Linked DNA regions of Homo sapiens: region 2 is linked to region 1. The links are contacts of gene promoters, found by promoter capture Hi-C in blood cells and fetal thymus (Javierre and others, 2016). All regions are on one chromosome and are shown on one strand. The core of a region is centred on a gene start or on the middle of the fragment in contact, and the rest is flanking DNA. Distances in the headings are between cores, read along the strand shown. Region 1 holds the start of WWC2-AS2 (WWC2 antisense RNA 2). Region 2 overlaps DCTD (dCMP deaminase).

Region 1 (5,547 bases), core at 928-3,427:
TCCATTAAGAGTTTAAAATAAAGGACATGCTTGACTTGTGAAAAAAGTAGTGATATGGATAGCCAAGTCATATAATTTCACTCCACTTTCTATTTACTTTACCCAGACATTACATATTCTTGTAATCCTTTCCGGTAAACACAACTGAGATAATATAGTAAAGCATGTAAACCGAAGAAGAGAACCTAGAATGCCTAAATATTTCAAGAATTTATTGTTATTTCAATTACCTGAAACTCCAAGTATCAGAAAGCAGAAAGAATTACCACACAACTGTAAAAGTCAAATATTTATACAGGTGCCTTAAAAGCCGCAGTTGGGTGCACACCATCAGCACTGACATTTACTATCTGTTAAGTAGTTTCAAAGTGCAATAGCATAAGTCAAATAACTGGCTTGGAGCGTGAAGTTTATGACAACAACTAGCACGTCTGGAGACACTGGGAAGGTGTGATGCCTGTCACAATTTTCATCAGGCCAGCAACAGGCAGCCAGGCTGCGGCAAGACCGAACCTCAGCACAGGTGCCTTTTCTCATTTCAGGAGGGAAACCTAGGCCCGTAGCTTCACGGATAATTGAACAAGGATTGTTCCATAAATTTATAATGTTATTTATAACTTTCTTGTAATTGCCTTTTAGTAGCTTTCAAAAACAACATTTTTAGGGCAAAAGTAACTGAGATTATAAAGTAGTTAGGTATTTCAGCTTCAAATTGAGAAAAGGGAAAATGTTAAATAGGAGAAGCACCTAAAAAGTATATAAAGCCCAAAGGGCCACATTCAATAAAGTTATAATTTTCAGAAATGACAAAAGTCCAAATGTCGAAGTTATCCCTGGTGGCACGTTATTTAAATTTACAATTAGGAATATCTCCTTAATGGATAATTTACAAATTTATAATTAGGAATACCTCCTATTATTCTTACAATAATTCTAAGAAATTTTAAGGGTAAAAAAAATATGGGACACAGAAACATTTGTGAACCTTCAGTTCCTGAACCAATTTAAAAAACAAAAAACAAAGAAACCAGGCTAAGCTCAAATCAGAGTGCCTCAATACCCAACGTTAATTTCACTACATCTCCCTTCCAAACACAATATGCCTGTTCCCGATCTGGGAGTCGGTTCAAGTTTTCAGGTGAAGACTAACGACAGACAGCGAAACCCCCAAACGCGCGTTTTTAAACTCTGAGGGGCAAAGTCAGTCACACCCACTAGCAGGGCCCGGCGGGGGGCGGGAGCCCCTTCCCAGCTCGGGACCTCCGGCCAGTCTGGGCGCCCCCGCCAAGAGCTCGCAGCCCAGGCTCCCGCGCCAAGGACGGCCTGAGGGATGCCACAGGTGGCCCGGAGGGCTCGTTCCCCAACTGGCAGTGAGGCCCTAGCCCACCCCCGCCGCCCAGAGGCCGAAGGTGTCCTGCAGCCTCCACGTGGGCACCTCGAAGCCTAGGGAAGTTCCTAACAGGGCTCAGGTGGCCCCTCGGGTCCGTTAGCCTGGCGCGCGGCGTCGGCCCGGGGCAGCGACTCCAGCCTTGCCTCGGGGCCGGGTCCCCGGAGGGGCGTCGGGAAGCCGGTGGGCGGAGGAGCCCGGGTACGGGCGGCTCCTCGGCCCCGCCGGAGCAGCCAGCCCCACATCCCTCCCGGGACCCCTCGGGGCACCGCGGGCCGGCGCCGCCCCAGCCCCCCGCGCGGCCGGGTCTCCGGGACAACAGCCGCCGTGTCCGAACGGGCCCGCGCCCCCGCGGCCGGCGCCCACCTGTCCCGGGGGTCGATCCAGCTGGTCCTCCTGGTGTTGTGGTCAATGTAGAAGACCTTGCCGTCGTAGTCCCTGGCCTCCTCCCAGCCCCGGGGCAGCGGCAGCTGACCGCTCCCGGCCCTCCTAGGCATGGTCGGCGGCCTCGCCGGCGAGCGGCGCCTCCATAGGTACCGGGCGCGGGACGCGGCGGGAACGCGGCTGCCGGGCTAGGCTGCCAACCCGCGACGCGGGCGCCGGCGAGGGGCTGAGGGGCGCAGGGCGCGGGGCGCGGCGGAACCACGCGCGGGAGGTGCCTCAGGAAACGCTGTTCGCGGCCCCGCTGCGGATCAGTCCACCATGTCTGCGTCGGAGCCGGCGAGCGAACCCTCCTCCCCCTCGCCGCCGCTGCCTCCGCCTCTTCCTCCTCCTCCGCCCCGTCCCCCTCTGGCCGCCGAGGGTCGCGGCGCCCAGGCTGCCGGAGCCGCCGCCGTCTGGGCTCGGATCCGGGAAGCTGCGGCGCTGCCGCGGCAGCGGCGGGCCCCTCATTTGCATGCGATTAGCATGCGCCCGCCCGCCTCATCTGCATGCGCATTCCTCGCGCCGCATTCCTGAGCTTAACCCCGCCGCTGCCGGCGTCGCCGCACCAGCTCGGACGCACTGCCCCGCGGGGCCGCGGCTCCAGGTGGGAGGAAGGCGGGCGAAGGAATGTGCGGCCAGCTCCCTCCCCTTGACCCCAGATAGCTCCCCTGGGCCAAACGCCGAGAGGTTTTAGAGTTTCTGGACGGGGAAGATTGCAAAAGTCTCCGCAACCTTCTCAACCTCTTTCGTCTTCTAGGGAAACCACAAAACTTTCGAGAGGAAAGGGGTGGCGGGCGGGGAGCTCTCCTCCGGAGAAAAAACCTCAACAAGCGGAGAGGGCACAAAGGCTCCCCACGCCGCGCCCCGAGCCCCTCCGGCACCCCAAGGGCGGTCCGGGGTGGTGGGAAAGCGCCAAGCCCTGGGAGTGCGTCGGTGGGTCCGGGACGGCGGGGCCTCCGCCAGGGCTCCTGGCCCTCGATGACCTCGGCTGAGACCGCGAGCCGCGCGGCGGAAAGCGGAGGAACTCCCGTCCGGCCCTGTAGCCGCCCGCACCGCGCCCCGTCACCCGCCGCCCCTTCGCGTCCGGGCGCTCCAGCCGCGGGGCCCCGGAAGCTCCTGGTCCCTGGCCTCCCCTGCTTGGTTCGGGGCGGTTGGCCGTGGACGCGCCCCGACTCTAGTCCCTTCCGTCCAGCCGCCCGCCCCAGGATGTCCCCCCACCGCAGCCCCGCCGTGGCCAGGAGGTGTGGGCGGCCACGCCGGAGGGACCCACGGCGGCGCCGGACGCCCGCCCTTCCTAGGCCCTGGCCCGGCCGGGGTGGGCCGGGACGTTCCCTGTTGCATAGGCATTTATTTATTCAGCAGCTACTACGTACGTGCTGGCCCGCACTGCCGAGGGACCGGACGCCTGCCCCAGGCGGGACAATGCCGGGTGCAGCGCTGGCGGGGCCTGGACGCCAAGCTTCAGGGTCCCCAGCCCCTCAGTCAGAGGGGGCGCCTCCCAGGCCCTGGACTCCTCTCCAGCCGGGTCTACACCACCGTCCCCCGTCATCTTCTTCTGGGTTACTGAGCAGCTTCTTTTAAAATAGCAACACCGAGGAAGGCCCCGAAGCCCAGTCTTGCACCTCGTGGTGTGAAGTCGTTTAATCCTGCCCGCTAATGCGTAAGGACTTTCCACCGTGTGCAGGACTCCGCGCTGGGCAGGGGCTCTCGCAGGGTTTGAACCGACCTCCGCCTCCCCTGCGGGTTCACAGGCCTGCGAGGAAGTCGCGTGAAGGAGATTCGCTACTGTGTGAGGCTGGCCTGCGCGGCGTGGGCAGTAGCTGTCCGGGGCTGGGGACAGCTTTCGGCTCCCCAGGCCATCCCGTCGGGGCATCTGCGGCCAATCTCGAAGGTGGAGAGGCTCAGGGTTGGAACAGACTTCACGGAAGGGGTCCTAGAAGAGGAAAGGGGTCGTGTTTGCCCTTAGAGCAGTCTGGGCGTGAAGCGGAAACTTTAAACCACCAGAAACTCTGGAGAGCTTGGAGCACCTGGGAAGGAGCAACCAGAGTGGGCCGGAGGTAGGGAAGGAAGGCACCCACGGCGAATTTGCCCGCTTTGACCGCATTTAGGGCGGCCGCTTGTGCAGCCAGCCTTCTGGAAGGTAGGCTTTGCGCTTGGTGAAGAGAAGCCCCCACCTCCGGATCTGTGTTCCGCCCCAGTCCATTCATCAGGAGGTGATCACACAAGTCAAGCTTCTCTAGTTCCCGGTGGAATGAGACGCCCTGGTGGGGTCTTAAGGTTGAACGTTTGAATACTGTAAAAAAGATGGGACCTGCCTACAATTAATCTCTCACACTACTGAGCGAATGTGCGTTGTTTTGGACTTCCCTAAATTGGCCCAAATGCATAGCCAACACTTGAATTGCGGTGTACTAACAACATCATTCAGCACCAAACCAAACCATTCTTATTTAAACCTTGCTTCCTAGCTTATTTATTTCCCAAACAACTTGAAAACATTTGTTATACTAAAATGTCTACATCTTACTATTAAAAAAAAAAAACCAAAGTAACACACTTTGCTGCTGCCGTAATTTTATGTCACTGAGATGAACTATTCTACAATACTTGTAATTTCAAATTTGTTAAACTTTCAGCTAAGTAGTTTTACCCAAATTCTAAAACCAGTGAGGAATCCAAAATAGCACGCAGCATTAAATGACGTTTATTGTTCCATAAATCTTCAGACTTCAAAAAGAAACGCTAAATAGACAAACAGAACTCTAAAGCAATTAAGAGACAAGCTCGCTGCTTCTTCCCCACTGACTGGCAAGGAAACATTTGGTCATACAAAAGCCATTAAAATGACGGAAAGGAGAGTTGCCACTCTCTAGCCTTTTTTGTTCTGATCAAGTTTGAACTCTGCTGTTCGGAGTTCACACAATTTACGTAGTAACAGACCTTCAGAGAATTCCTAACGGTCAAGACAATGAAATTGCATTTATATCTGTAAAAGGAAAAGAAACATGAAGATTATCCCCATTTTAGAGGTGGACACATTTAGATTTGATTTGAGCTCCAGATGATCCTTGGCAAAGAAAGATGATGCAATCCGGTGTACAGGACGCCATATTGCCCTAGCCTGGAACCGTGTTCTAGCCGCTGAAGAGCCTATTCTGTGGCTTTCAAAATGTTCTTTTCTCCTAGCTTTACGTTTTCTCTCCAGCGCTAAATCCGTGGGGATAAGCCACCATAAACAAAGCTCCCACTGTCAATGTCCTAATCTTGAGTGGCAGGAAAATTGGTAATATCAAAAATGGGAGTAGACAGTGAAAATTATTTTAAAAGATAATTCTATTATGTACAAATTTAAAAGATATCAGGTGGGCCGGGCGTGGTGGTTCACGCCTGTAATCTCAGCACTTTGGGAGGCTGAGGTGGGCGGATCACCTGAGGTCAGGGGTTCGAGACCAGCCCGGCCAACATGGCAAAACCCCGTCTGTGCTAAAAAATACAAAAATTAGTCAGGTGTGGTGGCAGGCAGCTGTAATCCCAGCTACTCGGGAGGCTGAGGCAGGAGAATCGCTTGAACCTGGGAGGCGGAGGTTGCAGTGGGCCGAGATCCTGCCACTGCACTCCAGCCTGGGCAACAGAGCAATACTCCATCTAAAAAAAATAAAATAAAAATAAAATATATCAAGCACACCTATAGTCCCAGCTGCTCAGGAGGCTGAGGCAAGAAGATCACTTGAGGCTAG
Region 2 (5,547 bases), core at 1,459-3,958, 190 kb after region 1:
TGGGAGGTGGAGACGGGCAGATCACCTGAGGTCAGGAGTTCGAGACCAGCCTAGCCAACATGGTGAAACCCCATCTCTACTAAAAATACAAAAATTAGCTGTGCGTGGTGGCAGGTGCCTGTAATCTCAGCTACTCGGGAGGCTGAGGAAGGAGAATCGCTTGAACTCAGGAGGTGGAGGTTGTAGTGAGCCAAGACTGCGCCACTGCACTCCAGCCTGGGTGACAGAGCAAGACTCTGTCTCAAAAAACAAAACAAAAACAAACAAACAAAAAACAAAACAAAAACAAAGAAAAGAAAAAGCTAGAAGTGTAGAACTGTAAACCTTTGGCTTGACTGTCTCTGGATTTTCCCCTTGAAATTAGGGAAGGCTGCTTCTTAGAGTTTGTTGCCTGTCTAAGCCCCAGGGAAAATTCCTTCAGAGATTGCCTGGGAGGGTCCAGCCATAGCTTTACTTTTCCTTGCATTCCTTGGAGAATATGCAAGCAATGCTGGAAAAGAGGCAAATCATGCTGGGTATGCAGGTTGCTGATTTTTGTAAGGTTAGGCCCTGTATTTTATGTCTGAGAATGAACAGACTGGCGCTGTTGGAAGTGAAGGGAGAGTAAGGCCATCCAAATGGGAAAGATTGTGTCTTCAGGCCAAGGCGTGATGTACGACCTTTCTTCTTTGTTGACTCTCCTGGTAGGTTTTCTTCTGGGTTTTTCTCATGAAGAATCCAAGTCAACATTTAGTCTAATTTATATATTTTTACTAATGTTCCTGGACCTCAATCATGTTAAATAAGCCCCATAAATTTCTTTCTAAATTGCCTAGGGGCAACTTCTCCATGTTTGAAAGAAAAAGTTAAGAGGTACCTGGAGAGAGAGGAGGAACTGAGGACTGCAAAGCAGTCTGGGTTTCCAGGATGTGAAAAGTAGTTTAGGGATGAAGGGGACCGAATCCTCAGATCCTTGATTTAACCTCACCCTCCCTCGTCGGAGTGGGAAGAGAGGATGGAGTTGGGGGAGGGTAAGACTGTCTTCTCAGCACAGCTTCAGAGCCGGTGGTAGTGGATGACTAATTAGAAAAATGCGCGGACTCAGAAACTGTCACCCTGATTTTGATTCTATAAGCTTTTGATGGTAAGAAAGAAGGGAAGTGATTAGTTGTTTTTAAGTCCATGCAAAGATAATTTTTCACAGTGCGGTTCAAAGTCCCCTATAAAAATGGTGAAAGTGGAGGGTCGATATGTTAAAGGTCTGCATTGAACTGTGTGACGGCCACAGTCAGTATGTCACCGAGTCTGGGCAGTGAAATATTGGCCCTGGGGCTGGACTTTGATATGGAGGAATTCTGGGGGGATGGCGGTCCGTCATACTCAAGCTGGTGCAAAAGATACCCGTGGTTGGACAGTGCGGAGGGGTCCTGGGTGAGCACTGAGTGGGCCTCCCAATGGGGCCTGTGCCTTCTTCAGTCACCCAGAGCCCCCAGCAGATCTTTAAGCAGTGACCTGGAAGCCAAGGGCCATGCAGTACATTTGCAGCACCTGCCCCACACCCCAGACTTCCCAGCTCTCCTGACTTCCCGTGTAGCTGATTTTGTTGGTTATGAGACACTGCCTTTTGTCCAAATTGAGGAGAGTACCTTTCAGAGCCCCTTTCTAGAAGGAATTTTTTTAAAAACCTGCATAGGTATTTGTCCAACTTCACCGATTGTTTTTTATTGAATAGCTCCTGAGCTCCTGGGCACTGGTTGTCTGTCTGCATTATTTTTTATTATCCATATGATACCTCTAGGTTTTCAAAGCTCTTTGCTCTTACTTATCAATTATTCATTTATATGTAGCTGTGTTAGAATGTCGACAGTTTTCTTTCACGAGAGTAAGCTTGTAATTTGATGTACCATAAAAGTTGTAGAAGGTATTAAATGGTTTCTAAAAGGCATTTAGTATTACTGCCGCCATAATACAGTAAAGATGGGCTTAAAGTCTAAATGACGATGACTGTGTATAAACTGTACACTTGTTGTCTTCTCAAGGTTTTTCAGGCCACAGAGAAGTAAATGTTTGGATTGCCTGGGATGTCACAGAAATGTTTGCTGATAATTGACTCAAATGCAAAGTCTTTTTTTTTTTTTTTGCTTTCGTTTTAAGATTTTCAAAATTAATTTAAAAAATAAGGGGATACTGCCTGGAGTTGGATAGCTCAACCCATTCTTTCCTCATCTACATTAATGGTGACTGAGCTGCTGTAGCAGGAAGGGTAAATTCATAGGTTAATCCCTGTAAAGGAGCTTTAGAGATTATCTCGAGTTCTGGACAATGATTTTTAACTCTTTTGAATGTACAGGACCCTCTTTTAAATGCTGAAAAACTTCCAGGACCCCTGCATAATGCTAAATTCTTAGTATCTTTTGAGTAAGAAACTCCACAATGACAAAAACTACTTCGTATCAGTAACATTTTTTGTTAATCTGAACTTTATTAATTGGATAGCATTTATGTATGTTTGGGAAAAGTTTATGTATGTCCTGGACATGGGATTTATCCAGTTGTGGATATGCTTGGACCCCTTGCAATACCTTAGTAGTGTCTCAGGGTTCTATGCCCACAGGATCTAAGCCTCCTCCTTTCTTGTAAGTAACTTCTATAATGTCACACATGCAGGGTGACATCTCCTAATTCCAAGGTCAGTGCTCTTCCTGCTACCTCCCTGTGTCTCTCCTGTGGGGCACATGAATTCAGCTGTACTGAAATGCCAATCATTGTCTCATTTTTTTTTGCAGTTGATCAGACTGAGGCTCCGATAAAATAATTACTCCTCAGAGATCAGGAGCTCGGGGAGGGGTGGCCTGTGTCCGGCATCATGCAGAAAGCCACATGCGTGGCTCACTGTAACATTTCTTCAAAGGGGAGTGCAGTGGACTGAATGTGTCTCCCCCCAAATTCACATGTTGAAACCCTAATTCCAATGTGCTGATATTTGGAGGTGGGGCCTGGGGGGACGTAATTAGGCCATGAGGGTGGAGCTCTCCTGAATGGGATTAGTGCCCTTCTAAAAGGGACCCCAGGGAGCTCAGTTACTCTTTTTCCATGTGCAAGGATAGGCGGAGAAGATGGCTATCTGCAACCCTGAAAGGAGACCTTGCCAGAATCTAACCATGCTGGTGTCCTGACTTCCAGCCTCCAGAACCATGAGAAATAAATGTCCATTGTTTCTCAGCCACCCAGTCTATGGGACTTTGTTATAGCAGCCCCAAGGGACTGTGACAGGGAGCTTGAGAACTGTGTAAATTTGAGTTTACCAAATAACATACAGCTTAATACTGCTTTATTAATTCCGTAAGTCGGAAGTCATTAGTCCTGATTGATGCCTTGTGGGGAGGAGGGAAACACACACTACTTGTAACATAATAGGAAGATGGAGCTTTTCCTGGGCTGTGTCTCTAGAGAGTTATTTTTAAAGGGTGTTTTTGTTCTTCCAGTCTTGGGATCAAAACTTCATAAAACTATTTTATTATAATGTAGTATTAATGTGGAAAATGAAAATTCCCTCTGCTAAAGAAGCTTTTTATTCCATCCTTTTCCTGAAAAATCCAAAAGATAATATGATGTCAGTAACATTAAGTGGCAGGAAGAAGGCAATGTTATTATACTAAGAATCTTTTCAGATGAATGACAATTAAAAAAGAGGAAGCAGCAGATTTATCTAATTTACAAGATTAAAAAACTTGGGAAGATTTTTATTTTCATGAGGGGGTGGGTTGCTAAACCTGTGATGAAGTATTCAGTTGACATTTTTCATTCCTTTTTCTTTGTGGAATTCATTATAGTGAAGCACATTTAATCAAAATACCAATGTTATCAAATGAGGTAAAATACTCTTGGTGATTCAGATATCACTCTTTCCTTGGGTTTTCGTAACCGATTTTGATGATATAGTTTACAAATTAGAGAGTTGGAGAATTAACTTGTTCCCGTTGTTAAACTTAAGGGAATTTTTAGTAATGCTTGCCACATGTATCCAGCTGCCCAGCACTTGTGGCCTTGCTGATTTCTGCTGGCAAAGGGCTCTGGGTTTTGGTGAGTGCCTCTGTGCTTGGCCTCCTATCCCACCCAATGGACCAGGGAGCCAGGGTTGCTTGGCCTGCTGCATCTCACTGCACCAGGGAGGGAACCGTAGCATCTCAGTGTCCCCAAGAGTCGGGGGAGGCCTCACTCTGAGTGCGTTGGGTAGAAGTGGGGCTCTTACCCGAGTCAGTTCCTATGTCTACAGGGATACTCTAAAAAGGATGTAATGCTGGGAAGGAAAATGCTGAAAAACCTGGAATTAATTAAGGCGAAAGAGTTCAGCAGAGCATCTTAAACACCTTTGCCAGTGTGGGGCAGTGCCTCTTTAAATTCTCTATTTAAATTTCATCTTTATTTTTCAGACTTAGCATATTGTTAAGCATGCATAGATGTCACTTTTGTGATTACTTAGCCATTTACTTTACCCCCTTGAACACTGACATTTTCCTGACTGCCATGCACGTGATATATTTCTTTGGCATCTGAAAGGTTAGTGTTGAGAAACTAATTTATCAAGAAGTTAGGAGGCTGATCCTTCTTAAGATATGACTTCCTCACAACTTGTAAGAGCTTCTTAGTAATTAAGATCAAATTTGTTCTTTCCGTCCTGAAATTGAATGTCCTCTGGTTTCGTTAGTCAGTCCATGAATTTGATAACTTGCTGTTTCTTTTCCTGCAGAATTTAATTTCACTTAAAGCTTCCTGCCGCTCCTCCCCTGCCTGGCCTTCTACTAGTTGTGGCCCGACAGCAGGTCTAATTAGGGACTTTTGTACAAAACTACTGTTATAATCAATGGAAAACCTTTGAACAACTGCATAGAAAAGAAATTAAGTAGATTATTTTTACGAATCAAGGGGCAAACTCAGCTGTGATCGTGTGGGGTTTCAGATAAACAGAGGGACACACCAGTGTATATATGAGTCTTCTCCCACCCACTAAAATCAACCAGCTCCATGTAAGCATGTTTTACTTTAAGATATAATTGTTTATAAACAGTTTTCAGAAAGGAATAAATAATGATATTTTAATATAATTTATTTTGATATTTATGTATTTTTATAGTTACAGAGTTAATTATTTTTAAAGTGCTAGAGTTTACTATTTCATTATGAATATCTATGAAAGACATATAGTAACAAAATAACTCCTTGTTTTGAAGAGCACACATGTTAGGAAAAGCTGAAATGTTTGGGGATTGGACCTACCCATGAAAATACACATATCTGTCTCCTTTCTATAAAAAGTGACTTTTGAGTCAGTTCACCTCGTAGAAGTTTGAAATAAAACTTAATCTAAAGTAGTGGTTCCAGGGTTCCCAGAAGTGGGCTGAAGTTTATCTTTGTACTGTAATCTCTCAAGATAAAAGGTTTGTTGAAAAATTAGTAGCCTTGATAAAATGTCAGGGGCACATGCAAACTAATTTAGAAAACAGCTATGTTAAGTATTTGAGCACATTAATGATCTGAATGCAAATGGATATTCCTTCTTTATTTCTT

The links. The method cuts DNA at HindIII sites, captures the fragments that hold promoters and counts their contacts. A CHiCAGO score of 5 or more calls a contact.
Region 2: a contact is called between a fragment that was not itself captured here and the fragment with the promoter of WWC2-AS2 in region 1, in 1 of 17 cell types (megakaryocytes). The highest score is 5.2, in megakaryocytes.

The regions. Positions count from the first base shown.
Region 1 is chr4:183,095,829-183,101,375 of GRCh38, reverse strand. It overlaps WWC2-AS2 (WWC2 antisense RNA 2), which reads left to right and starts at 2,177. Exons shown (of 1, transcript NR_024008.1): 1 at 2,177-4,355. WWC2 (WW and C2 domain containing 2) reads right to left here and starts at 2,119. Exons shown (of 23, transcript NM_024949.6): 1 at 1,754-2,119. The coding sequence starts at 1,884. RefSeq lists a silencer at 3,066-3,360 and enhancers at 3,066-3,360, 4,706-5,000. The HindIII fragment of the contact is 3,980 bases long and covers 1-3,271 here.
Region 2 is chr4:182,908,722-182,914,268 of GRCh38, reverse strand. The region is part of intron 3 of DCTD (dCMP deaminase); the gene reads left to right. Among named protein-coding and RNA genes, the nearest start is that of DCTD, 5.9 kb to the left of the region's middle. The HindIII fragment of the contact is 1,680 bases long and covers 1,869-3,548 here.